Linked DNA regions of Homo sapiens: region 2 is linked to region 1. Evidence: promoter capture Hi-C in human tissues and cell types (Jung and others, 2019). All regions are on one chromosome and are shown on one strand. The core of a region is centred on a gene start or on the middle of the fragment in contact, and the rest is flanking DNA. Distances in the headings are between cores, read along the strand shown.

What was found. The method cuts DNA at HindIII sites, captures the fragments that hold promoters and counts their contacts. A contact is called where the count stands out against the background at its distance.
Region 2: a contact is called between a fragment that was not itself captured here and the fragment with the promoter of CGN in region 1, in 2 of the 25 tissues and cell types used here (H1 embryonic stem cells and IMR-90 fibroblasts).

What each region holds. Positions count from the first base shown.
Region 1 is chr1:151,509,944-151,515,874 of GRCh38, reverse strand. CGN (cingulin) reads right to left here and starts at 4,488. Exons shown (of 21, transcript NM_020770.3): 1 at 4,360-4,488. RefSeq lists enhancers at 1,953-2,528, 2,529-3,105, 3,968-4,107, 4,259-4,834, 4,835-5,411 and a silencer at 4,438-4,837. The HindIII fragment of the contact is 12,501 bases long and covers 1-5,931 here.
Region 2 is chr1:151,984,152-151,989,979 of GRCh38, reverse strand. S100A10 (S100 calcium binding protein A10) reads left to right here. Exons shown (of 3, transcript NM_002966.3): 2 at 3,729-3,881. The coding sequence starts at 3,750. Among named protein-coding and RNA genes, the nearest start is that of S100A10, 6.8 kb to the left of the region's middle. The HindIII fragment of the contact is 5,250 bases long and covers 1-4,077 here.

The sequences.
Region 1 (5,931 bases), core at 3,239-5,738:
ATCCAGTAGAAGAAAATGCACTGGGCTAGAGTCAGGATCTGGTCTGGAATCCTGTCTCTGCTCTTCACCTGATGTATGCAACCTGAGGCAAATCACAACTTTTCTGGTGTGGTGGCTCACGCCTGTAATCCCAGCATTTTGGGAGGCCAAGGTGTGTGGATCACTTGAACTCGGGAGTTTGAGACCAGCCTGAGCAATATGGCAAAACCCCATCTCTACAAAAAATACAAAAAACTAGCCGAGTATGGTGGTACACACCTGTAGTCCCAGCGACTTAGGAGGCTGAGGCAGGAGGATCACCTGAGCCCAGGAGGTTGAAGCTGCAGTGAGCTGTAATTGCACCACTGCACTCCAGCTTGGGCAATAGAGTAAGACTCTGTCTCAAAAACAACAACGACAACAAAAAACCCACAACTTTTCTGTGCCTCAGTTTCCTCATCTGTAAAATGGGTATAATGATAATACCCCACAAGGTTATTATCTGTGAGAATGAGATAATAAATAATTATATGGGCATATACAATGATAAAAAAGTACCAAGTTATACCCTTAAGATCTTTGTACTTTATTTAGGCCAGGCGCAGTGGCTCATGCCTGTAATCCCAACACTTTGGGAGGCTGAGATAGGCAGATCACCTGAAGTCAGAAGTTCAATAACAGCCCGGCCAACATGGTGAAACCCCACGTCTACTAAAAATACAAAAATTAGCTGTGCGTGGTGGTGCACGCCTGGAATCCCAGCTACTGGGGAGGCCGAGGCAGGAGAATTGCTTAAACCTGAGAGGCACAGGCTGCAGTGAGCCGAGATCCGCCAGCCTGGGTCACAGAGCAGGACTCCATCTCAAAAAAAAAAAAAAAGATGTTTGTACTTTATTGAACTTGGGTTCTAATTTAATAAAAAGGAGAGAAAAACAAGATATTAAACATGAAAACATTTAGCATGTGACTATCACAAAGCTGACAACAAATATCATCCTTCACACATGCTACTTTGTCCAACAGGCACTTTTGGCTTCACCTGGTTCATAGAAAGATGTCACTTCTTCAGAGAAGCCTTCCCTGACCACCACTCCCACAAACAAGGTCAGTTCTCACAAATCAGCCTCCCACAAACCAGGTCAGATCCACGTTATACGCTCTATAGTTGTCCTTCAGCAGGTTTACTCCAGTTTATATTTATACATTTATTGGAGTAATTATTTCCTGTCTGTCTCCCCTACGAGATAATAAGCTCCTGGAGGGCAAAGACCATGGCTAGCAGCTAACCACTGTGTCCCCAGGTGTTTGGACACGTGGTAGATGTCAACAAATATTTGTTAAAGGCTGTATCCTGAACTAAAGCCCACTTGCACAGCAGTGGGGAGATTTGCCCAGGACAAATCTACTTTGCCTCAGTAACAGGACCTCTTAGCAACAGGACCTCCTCCTGGTCCAGACTTGCTGCCCTATGTAGTCATGATCTTAGAACCAGAAGTGCCTAGATTGCCAGCTCTCAGAAGCCATATGATTTATTCATGATGCAGTCTACCCTGTCAGTACATCTACTGATCTTCCAGATCCAGGTCAAGGAGTTCCCAGCCTAGGCCCAGCAGAGGGCACAGACCCTTGAGCAACAGCACTAAATTATTCAGAGGCAGTGTTGAACACTCCCCCAGGTCCCAGGTTAGGTTAACTCCCTAACCTCAATCACCTTCAGTCCAAGGACATGTGGATCAGGGGCCAGGAGGGCTGAAGGGATCTTTGGGGTGGGTCAGAAAGCAGGGCTCTAAATGATTCAACATGGAAAACCCGAAACCTACCCGCCTTTGGTTACAGAGGACAGTGGGGCGGGACCAAGGCAGCAGGGCAGCTCTGAGGCCTTGCGTAAGCCCCAGAGACAGGCAGGTAAACAGTGATCAAGGGCCAGGCAACATGGAGTCCAGGGCCTGCGCCCTCACCAATGCCTGACCCTACTTTTCTCTCCCCTATCACATGTCCAGGGCTCTCCTCACCAACTGTACTCCAGGAAGAGACCAGACCACAAGTTGATTCAGGTGCATCTGTCTGCTTCTGCCTTTCCTGCCTGCAAGGAGTGGGAGAACACTCTACACCTGTACCAGACAGCCACTTCTCCCTGAGTTACTCATTAGCCTGCCCTGCCCCAATTCCATCACCTCTGGCCCAGCCATATGCATCTGGTTTCCAACTAGGAGTGACAGGGTATCTGGACTTCTGGCAGGAAGTGGGGGTGGGGTGGTTTCGGGTGTGTGGAGGAAGGACTGATTCACATAGGGCCAGGCAATATGCTTGATGCTAAATAATTGGCAGATTTAGAAAACGGGAGAACTTGAGGTATAGAGATTAGAATCCCCTCAGAGGAAACAAGGAAAGCAAATGGTCGAAATAGAAAAGGACAGCTCAGTGACCTTGATGATTTGGCACCCTTTTTCTCATAGTTAGAGATAAGAAGGTTCCCCGTGGATCCAAAAAGAATCCCCCAAGTGGACTCCTGCCCAGGTCCGCTGAAAGAGCAGAAACCTGAGAGCCAGGCTACAGCTGCTTGGCCAGTAGGGAAAAAAACACAATGAGGAACTGGGCCCCTGCAAACTGGCTGGACTGGTTTGAGAGGCAAGGGGAAGGGGAGGGCCGGGGAAACTACACTGGCAGCTTGTAAAGCAGACCAGAGAAATTCCACACCACGGAGGAGGCAGAGGGGCAAGACCACAGGCAGGGGCTCTCCAGCCTTGATGGCAAAGCCAAAGCTCTGAAGGAGAGGACAGAGGGCAGGGAGGGAACAGGCAGGAGGAGCAGATGAACAGGAACCTGGTGACAGGCCAGTATGTGACAGGGAGACTTTGTCTCCCTCCACCCCTCCCTTTGAGGTTCCCAAAGTTGCATTCCTGATCCCACACTTGCTTTGGCCACCTCCCTGGTCCTCAGTCCGCCCCTCCCTGGCACAAAGAGAAGAGCCCTACACCCCCATCACCTCCCACAAGGGGAATGGCATGCAGGCCAGCCTGGGAAACACAGGAAGGGTTCTAGGAAGCCAGAATCCTCTTAGAGTCGGGCAAATCTCTGGATTAGCAGTCCCCCAGAGCCAGCCCCCAGACTCCCAAACATCCAGGATGAAAGAAGAGATGCATAGGCATGTGTAGGCAGCCCATCTACAAACATAGCGGTTGCTAATTATTTCCCAATTACAACAACCTTCCTCAGGCAGGGCTTCAAAGGGGCCAAGCTAAGGTTGACTCTAGTTCCTTTACCTGCCTAAGGCAAAGAAATTTGCCTCCAGTCTTGTCTGGGCCCCAAGGTGCACCTTTCATCTGTCCTGGGGATTTGGAGTTGTAATTTCCCTAGTCTCGTGGTCTCCTGATGAGTCCTGCCTATTTCCTGCCCCAATAGTGCCTGCTGCCATTCTGACAGCCACCGCAGTTCAGGAGTCAGGGATGCCTGGAGGGCGTTCAGGGAGTAATGGGGATTCCTCCAGACATCAAGGAAATTGGTTGGGCTCCCAAACCTCATCCAATGGTCCCCATCTAGAACCACAGAAAAAATATGTGGGTACTTGGAGAAAGGGTTTGACATCCGCCCCCAGAAAGGGGCCTCCTGAGAAATAAGTATTAATATTTATCAATATTTTGCAGGACCAGGCAGGGCTCTTTGCTTCCTCATATCCCTCTCTTGGGGAGTACTCTCTCTCTCTCTCAAGAGGAAGAAGGAACGATTCTCCCTGGCACGAAAGCAAAGGACACAAAGTGAAAGCCTAATGGTTGTACACCTGGTGAAGAGATGAGGGTGCCCTCTCATCTGCCCCTCAGTGTCTCTGATTCGCAACTGCCTTCGGCCGGAGGTGAAGGGCTGGGGAAAAAATCCCACACCTCAGAGTCATCTCAAAGCCACCAGGGTGCTGACAACGGCCAGCTGAGACCGCAGGACGCAGGAAAGACCCTCAGGCGAGCAGCACCTGCAGATGCCCTCCCCTGGCGAGTCTGCACCTCAGGCAGCAGCAGTTCCCGACTCAGCTGGAACTAACTCCTTCCCCGCGCCACCGCTGTCTCCAAGAGAAATTCTGCCCCTAGGGCTGGCGTCTGACCTCCAGAGACATCTGGCGCTGAAACGCTTTCATGCGCTGGGAACAGCCTTCGCCCCAGGTGCCCCTCGCCTGGCACCTTCCTAGCCACCTGCATCTGGCACCTCAGGGTAGGGGTCGGCTCTTAATCAGTACCCCACCCCGCCCCAATCTCCCCTCCTCCCGTCTCCCACTCGGCACCGGTGCCCTGGAGAGGGGCATCTCACACCGCCTCGATGCCTGCCCCTCAAAGGTACCCCTGAAGGCTCGCTTTCCTCTCGGGTGCCCTGGCCCGCACCGGGTCCACTCACCCTAGCCGGGCTCCGCGCTCCCAGGCTTGCGTTCGGGCTCGGGCTCGGGCTCGGGCTCGGGCTCGGGCTCGGGCTCGGGCAAAGCAGCACGCGCAGCTCCGGCCCTCCCCCTCGTCCTCGGAGCTCCCTCCTTTCTCTCCCTCCCACCAACCTGTTACTCCGCTGCGGAGCTCCACCCCCGCGGGCCGTCAGTGCCCGCCCCGCCTTTCCCCGCTCCGGTTGGTCCGCTTCCCGTAGGGGGCGGGGCCTCCGGTGCGGGGACCGGGACCCGGGGTCTCCAGCCGCGAAGGGCGGGCCAGGTCACGTGGACCCACGGGCTGCGGAGCGTCGGGGCGGGGCGGCGAGGGGCGCGGAGGCCATTTTGGGGGCGTCGCGGATGGTCGCGAGTGACCGCCGGCCAAGATCCCGGGAGCCGTCGGCCAGAGCATCTTCTGGGCTCTGCTAGAAAACAGCCTCCTGCCTCCCGTTTACTCCAAGGGAATCGCCGGCCAGGGCCCTTTCTGTCCTTCACCTACCTCTGCAGGAACCAGAATGCTCTTTCGTCACTTTCTGCAGAAAATATCTCCGTTGTCCCCCGACGTCAGAGCCTCCTGCACCTCAGCTCGTCTCCCTTTTCCCTGACCCGAACCAGAACCCTGATCTTGGATTCTCTTTTATCTTGTGGCCTCCGCAATCATTTTGCAGCCTGACATCTTTTTCTATGTAATATTTATCACCTTCTAGTTAATAACATAATTTTAAAAATCATTTTCATCATTTTGCCTCCCGTCCTACGATAAGCTTCACCAGAGCAAGGATCTCTTGTTCTGTGCCTTGCTTCACCCCAAACGCCTACAACAGGGACTGGTACATACTACATGCTTAATAAATATTTGTTGACTGAATGAATGGAAACCGGGGACGCAAATTTACCAAAATAGGAATGACCTTCGTTCTAAACTGAAAGGGACTCAGTTGTAAATTTACCTCAGAGTTAGCCTCTCAAAAAGTAGGGATGCTGATCCCAGTTCCTAGAAAAGAGTAAAAACTAGGGGCTCTGCAAACTGCAGGACCGCTCATACCAGCTGCAGTTAAAACAACATTAAAGCTGGCATCCTAGCTGTTAACCGTTGAGATATGTAAAAAAGAGATTGACTTCGTTTACGTTGCTGGGCTCCGGATTTTGTTCTCATTTAGTTACAACAAATATTTACCCTGTATCTATTGGAGTAGAAGAGGAATCTTCGATGCAGCACAGATTCCGGTGTATTCTCGGGAGCTGGTTTCCGCCCCTCCCCAAGCCTTCAAAAGCTAGGTGTGGGTCCTACAGAGTAAAGTCCACTTACCAGCTCCTCAGCTGGGATGCAAAGTCTCTGCATTCCAGAGCAAGCTGTATATAAGGATTAGGGCCATCAAACCGGCCTGTTCCCTGGGGAGGAACAGCAAAAAACATGTAGTGGGGGTGGGGACAGAAGAGGAAATGTCCTTCCAGGAGCGCACCTCCTGAACACTGGGTGGCTTTTAAAAGACTTTTTTTTAAAAAATTTTTTCTTATTTTTCTTTTATTGTGCAGCCTCCTGAACCAGAATAGGT
Region 2 (5,828 bases), core at 203-2,702, 480 kb before region 1:
GCAGACAAGTAAACAATTAAATGAAATTGAATGTTTCAGGTGCAAGAGTACGTTATTGGGGATAGAGAGGACACTGCAGCCCCTCAGCCCCAGCCCCAAGGCCCTCCTGTCAAAATGTGTCTAACCAGGATGCAGGAAGCCCACATCTGTCCAGGAATAGAGCTTGCAGAGTGGCTACGTGAGGGTGGAAATGCCAGATTGAAGTCCCTGAAGAACTTCAGTTTTGGCAGCTAGCAGTGCTGCAGACAGCCCTGCCCAGGCAAGCCCCACCCAAGAACGGAGGGCCAGGCAGGGCTGACTCAGTTGGGCAACCATTGGCTGCACTCAGACAAGAGTTACATGATTCATCCTCTAGCCAAGAGAACAGAGTTTTAATCACAACATTTCCCCCTTTCCTTTGTCTTATTTTAAAGCCAGTGTGCAACTCCTTCCCCAAAACAGAGTTCCTTGCTGTGGCCCTGGTCAGTGCCCTTTGGGGTACTGGTTGCTGAGGAGACAAGGGCTTCTCCACTGATTTTCAATGCTATTTTCACCTCCTGGCTACTCCCTCCTCTGCATCCTTATTGCAGAAGGCCTACTGGACACACAGGGAGTCAGCTGGCTGCAATATTCACAATCCATCCACTGAATAAAACCGCTGGGGGAGGAGGGGAGGGGAAGACCAAGTGGGAGAAGGATGTAACTTCAGAGAAGGAAGCTCCGTCACTTCGTAATGGCTGTGGGCAAGAGAGGCATGCGACTGAGTGACTTCAGACCTAAGCACTCACACAGTGTGAGGTAGACTCACCTTGCTCTCCTGAAGAAGATACTCAAGGGTGGCCAGGATTTCCTCAGCTGACAACTTGTATTTCTTAGAACCTCCTAAAATTAGCCTTTTTAAAATTTAGAGGTCCTTACCCTGCTGCATTCCCTTTCTTAATTCTGCACTTTCCTTCTGTCCTGTCATCTGAAAAAAGTAAACTAGGTACCCCACCCAGTTCCAATTTCTGGGATCTTTGGGAATTGATCCTGAAGTGCTCTGCTGCTCTGAACTTGAGCACAGGTATTTTTAAACCTCTGTGGTGTCTGACTCCTTTCCTGAGTTATTTAAGAACTGGGGTGGGATCCCACGTCCTTCTCCCAGAGGTGACTCGCCCAGTTCAGTTCTCTTAAATTGCTGGACTTGGAGTACCAGTCCAGGCAAGGCAGACTCTCTGTAAGCCCACTGCCATCTGAAACCCATATGAGGGATGGGGGATGAGCCAGATCTGAGCTGTGTCAGAAGAGAAGGAAAAGGGTGTGGTTCCCCTGGAATTCATCTCACAGCAGACCTTGAAGCATTAATTTGCAGCTCTCTCCAAGATAACTAACTGCCTTTCAGATGACTCATGCCAGATTCTGATTTATAGCATTCTTTGGCCTGCTGGTTCCCATACTTTTCTGGAGATTAAGGGGTAGAATTTACAATTCTTAAGTGTTAATTGCTCAATCCTCATGTTTACCCACTCCACCTTCTCCTCTGTAAAAGATAGCATTTGAGAATCAGTGTTGAACAGGCATCTCTCAGAGATAGGAACCAGACCAAAGCATGTCTCAGGTTCCCATTAGAGCTCTTCAGCAGAGGAATTTGCCAGCCCTTCAATCTAAGCTCAAAGCCTATTCTTGTGATTATTTATTTTTATTTTTTAGTGCTATATTACAGTCTCCATTCACGTTCACCTGTTTCCTATCCAGTAGTGATTTTAGGTGATATTAGCCAAAGCTTATCTGTTCTCGCCAAATGATTCCTTCCAATTAAGCCAAAATTCACTGAGGTTCTATTAAGTACCACGTACTGGGTCTTGTGAGACATATACCCCTAGTTCATTATACCCAAATGTAATGATCTGACATGTTTCCTTTCCTTTCTTATAAACGCTTCATGATGAAAGCTCTTGCTTTCCCACTGTACCCCAGACTGTGAGAGCAGCTCATCTGTCTAATGTCACTAAAAACATAGGAGGCCCTCAAATGAGTTAGGTTATAGTATTACTTGTTGCTTCTCAAGTGAACTAGACAATGGACTTTGAGTAGTTTTCTGTTTGGGTAGAGCAACTGTATTTTACTGCCAGAGATGCAACTGTCTTTATTGCAGTAAATAACAAGTTCAGAGCTTTAGTAAAGAATACATATAGGCCGGGCATAGTGGCTCACGCCTGTAATCCCAGCACTTTGGGAGGCCGAGGTGGGCGGATCACGAGGTCAGGAGATCGAGACCACGGTGAAACCCCATCTCTACTAAAAATACAAAAAAATTAGTCGGGCGCGGTGGCGGGCACCTGTAGTCCCAGCTACTCGGGAGGCTGAGGCAGGAGAATGCCGTGAATCCAGGAAGCGGAGCTTGCAGCGAGCCGAGATGGCGCCACTGCACTCCAGCCTGGGCAACAGAGCAAGACTCCGTCTCAAAAAAAAAAAAAAAAAAAGAATACATATATACCCAGCAGATAAATTCATTTGTAAGCAGATTTCTAAACCCTAGAATCACACTGAACCAAGTTACCACTTTAAGCTTAGAAGGGTGAAGTTTTCGTATTTACCAGACTTGACTGTGTGGATTGTTAGTATCAGCCATATCTAAGAATCCCATTTACTAGTGCCAAGAGAAATTATGAACTATCTGTTCTTTCAGTAGGTGCTTTGTCAGTTAAAAAGAGGAACACTGGGCCGGGCGCAGTGGCCTGTAATCCCAGCACTTTGGGAGGCCGAGGTGGGCGGATCACCTGAAGTCAGGAGTTTGAGACCAGCCTGCTCAACATGGCAAAACTCCGCCTCTACTAAAAATACAAAAAATTAGCCGGACATGGTGGCGGACGCCTGTAATCCCAGCTACCTGGGAGGCGGAGGTTGCAGTGAGCCAAGATCACAACACTGCACTCCAGCCTGGGCAACAAGAGCAAAGCTCCGTCTCAAAAAAAAAAAAAAAAAAAAAAAAAAGAGGAACACTGATGTTGCTTTTCTAAATTATTAGTTTCTATTCTTCATTAGATTATTCATGCAAATTAGCTGGAGTTAGCTAAACCCCTTTATTTACAGCACCAGTATCTGAGGTGTCTATTTCTACCAACAAGGGACCCAAACTGGGGTGGACTGGTTCTTAGATTCATTCACTGAATTTTAAAGCTGGAGAAGATCAGATGGATGATCTAATCTCCATCTTTCCAATTATCCTAAAAAGGCTGGCAATACATATGGCTTAAAAGTTAATGTAAATCTACAAAGATGAACCTGGAGGACGTTACGCTTAGTGAAATAAGCCAAGCACAGAAAGACAATTACCAGATGATCTCACTCATGTGGAATCTTAAACACTGAATTTCATAGAACTAAAGAATAGAATGGGCTGGGGTGATTGCATTTGAGTGATGTTGAGGAGCTATTGGTCAAAAGATTGAAAATTTCAGTTAGGAGGAATAAGTTTAAGAGATCTACTGTACAACAACGTGACTATAGTTAATTACAATGTATTGTATTCTTGACAAATAGTTAAGAGTGGCTAAGTGTTCTCACCACAGAAGTGCTAACTATGGGAGGTAATGCATATGTTAATTAGCTAGATTCAGTCATCCCACAATGTATATATACCTGAAAACATCATGTTGTACACATTAAATACATACAATTTTATCTTTCAATTTAAAAAAAATAAATTCATGCATAAAGTCTGCCAAAAAAAGTTAATGTAGACCCTGTTACTTTACATCCTTTAATAGGCTTCAACGGACCACACCAAAATGCCATCTCAAATGGAACACGCCATGGAAACCATGATGTTTACATTTCACAAATTCGCTGGGGATAAAGGCTACTTAACAAAGGAGGACCTGAGAGTACTCATGGAAAAGGAGTTCCCTGGATTTTTGGAAGTAAGTGTTGAAAAGCTTACAAAGAACCAGACATAAAAGTCAATGCTTCTAGGCCTTGGTTCCTTTTCCTTCTTGTTTCCATCCCTTCCCTGTGGAGGTCACCACTAGTGAATAAATGAATGTAGTCACCTGAAGGAATGAATGAATGACCTCATTCATTCATTTATTAAATAGTATTGAGTACCTGCTATTTGTAAGATACTGTTGAGGAAACAAAGTAATGAAGACACAGCCCCAACCTTCAAGGAGCTTACAGTCTGCAGGTGAAATAAGACTGCATACAAATAACCACAATATGAGCTGTTTGTTGGAAAATTCCATCGGGTTATCTGTGTCTGTTGTGACGATGTTGGGGACAGAGTTGGGAGAAAGAAAGCTTTTCACAAAAGAGTAGTCAACCAGAAAATGGCTACCTTCAGGTCCAAAAACCTGGTGGTGGAGATGCCACATCCTGGTCACATTCCATTTTGAGCAACTCGAATCTCCCTTCTTAAATCTCTTCAGATAAAGGGATTGTTTTTTCTTTTTCTAATACTACAAAGGAGCAGTGTCAGTCATCTACTGAATAAAAGCCACATATCACTCCAGAAATAACTGCTTTTCACATAATAATGCTCTGACAGCACAGGAGCAGTTTGAATTTATGTCTCACCTTTGACAGACTGAGAGATGCATGAAGACCTATAAGAGGACTCTGCCATCAGCTCAGATACATCACTCAGGACATGGGGCCACAAGGCACAGTTGTCCTTTTATATTCCAGGTTCTCGAGAGGTGGCTGTTGAATTCAACTGAAGGTGCAACATTGCATGACAAAATAGTAGACTGAAATGCAAGCCCTTCTTTCCCTACCACAATTGTAGTCACCTGAAAAGATTGTTTCTGTGCTTGGTGTTGAATAATGCATTAACCTGTAAAGGGTGAGAGGAGATACGGTAAAACGTTGGGTCCTGCCTCTTGTCATCTGACTGGTAAACGGCACATTAGTCCAGCCCCTGACTCCTGCAATCAATAAACATGAGGCTTTTTAGTATACTATAATTCGTATGTCATCAATATCAGTTAAATAAACAGATATAAATAGCCTAACTGCTCTCTCAGAGCTGCAGTTATTACCTAATGCTATCCCAGAATGAGTTAGAATATGCAGGTCCTCTGCTTTTGTAGAGTCCTGTGATATAGCCCCAGACCAGGAGTTAGAAGATCTGGCTCTGCCTTAACTAACAATGGGCAGGTTGCTTCAGCTCTCTAGTCTTCAGTTTCCTCCCCTGTAAAATTAGAGAGGGCTGGACATAATTATCTGCAAGGTCACTTTCACTTTCTATGATCATTCAAGACAAGCATTAAGATGCAAGGACAAAATGTGCTCATTGTAAGCCTGCCTGTCCTATAGACAAAGGCATTCTCAGTACACTAAACACTTGTTAAGAGTGTTGTTAAGAGCCAGAGTGAGTATCATGTAAGACACAGACCCTTTCTTCCTAAAGGCTTTGTGGCATCAGACACATAAAGGGTATATGTAGTGTGGAGCACTAACCATGGCAGGGTAATTTATTCCAGGCACAGAGTCATAATTCTGGAAACATCTAGACTCACTGCATTAACAGAGCATTTTGTTTCTAAAGTAGACCTCTTATGTCATCCAGATTTCACTCATTCTGACCACAGCCAGGAAGCTGAGGGTGAAGCCAGAATTAGCTGAAACCCACCAAGAGCTGCATAGAGCACGTTTAGCTAGAGTAGGAGTTTGCAGTGCTCATGTGGGAAATGCTGCTGCTATACTTTTAGGAATTTCTGAGTGCAATTTAGAAACATCTAGCACACTTGAAACACTGCGTATCATTTTCCTCACTCATGAATATAGTCATCAGAATTCATAAATAGTTTACCTGAGCCCTTTAACAACCTCAAATAGGCCATATTTCTCTCTCTGGTTGATGGCATGGA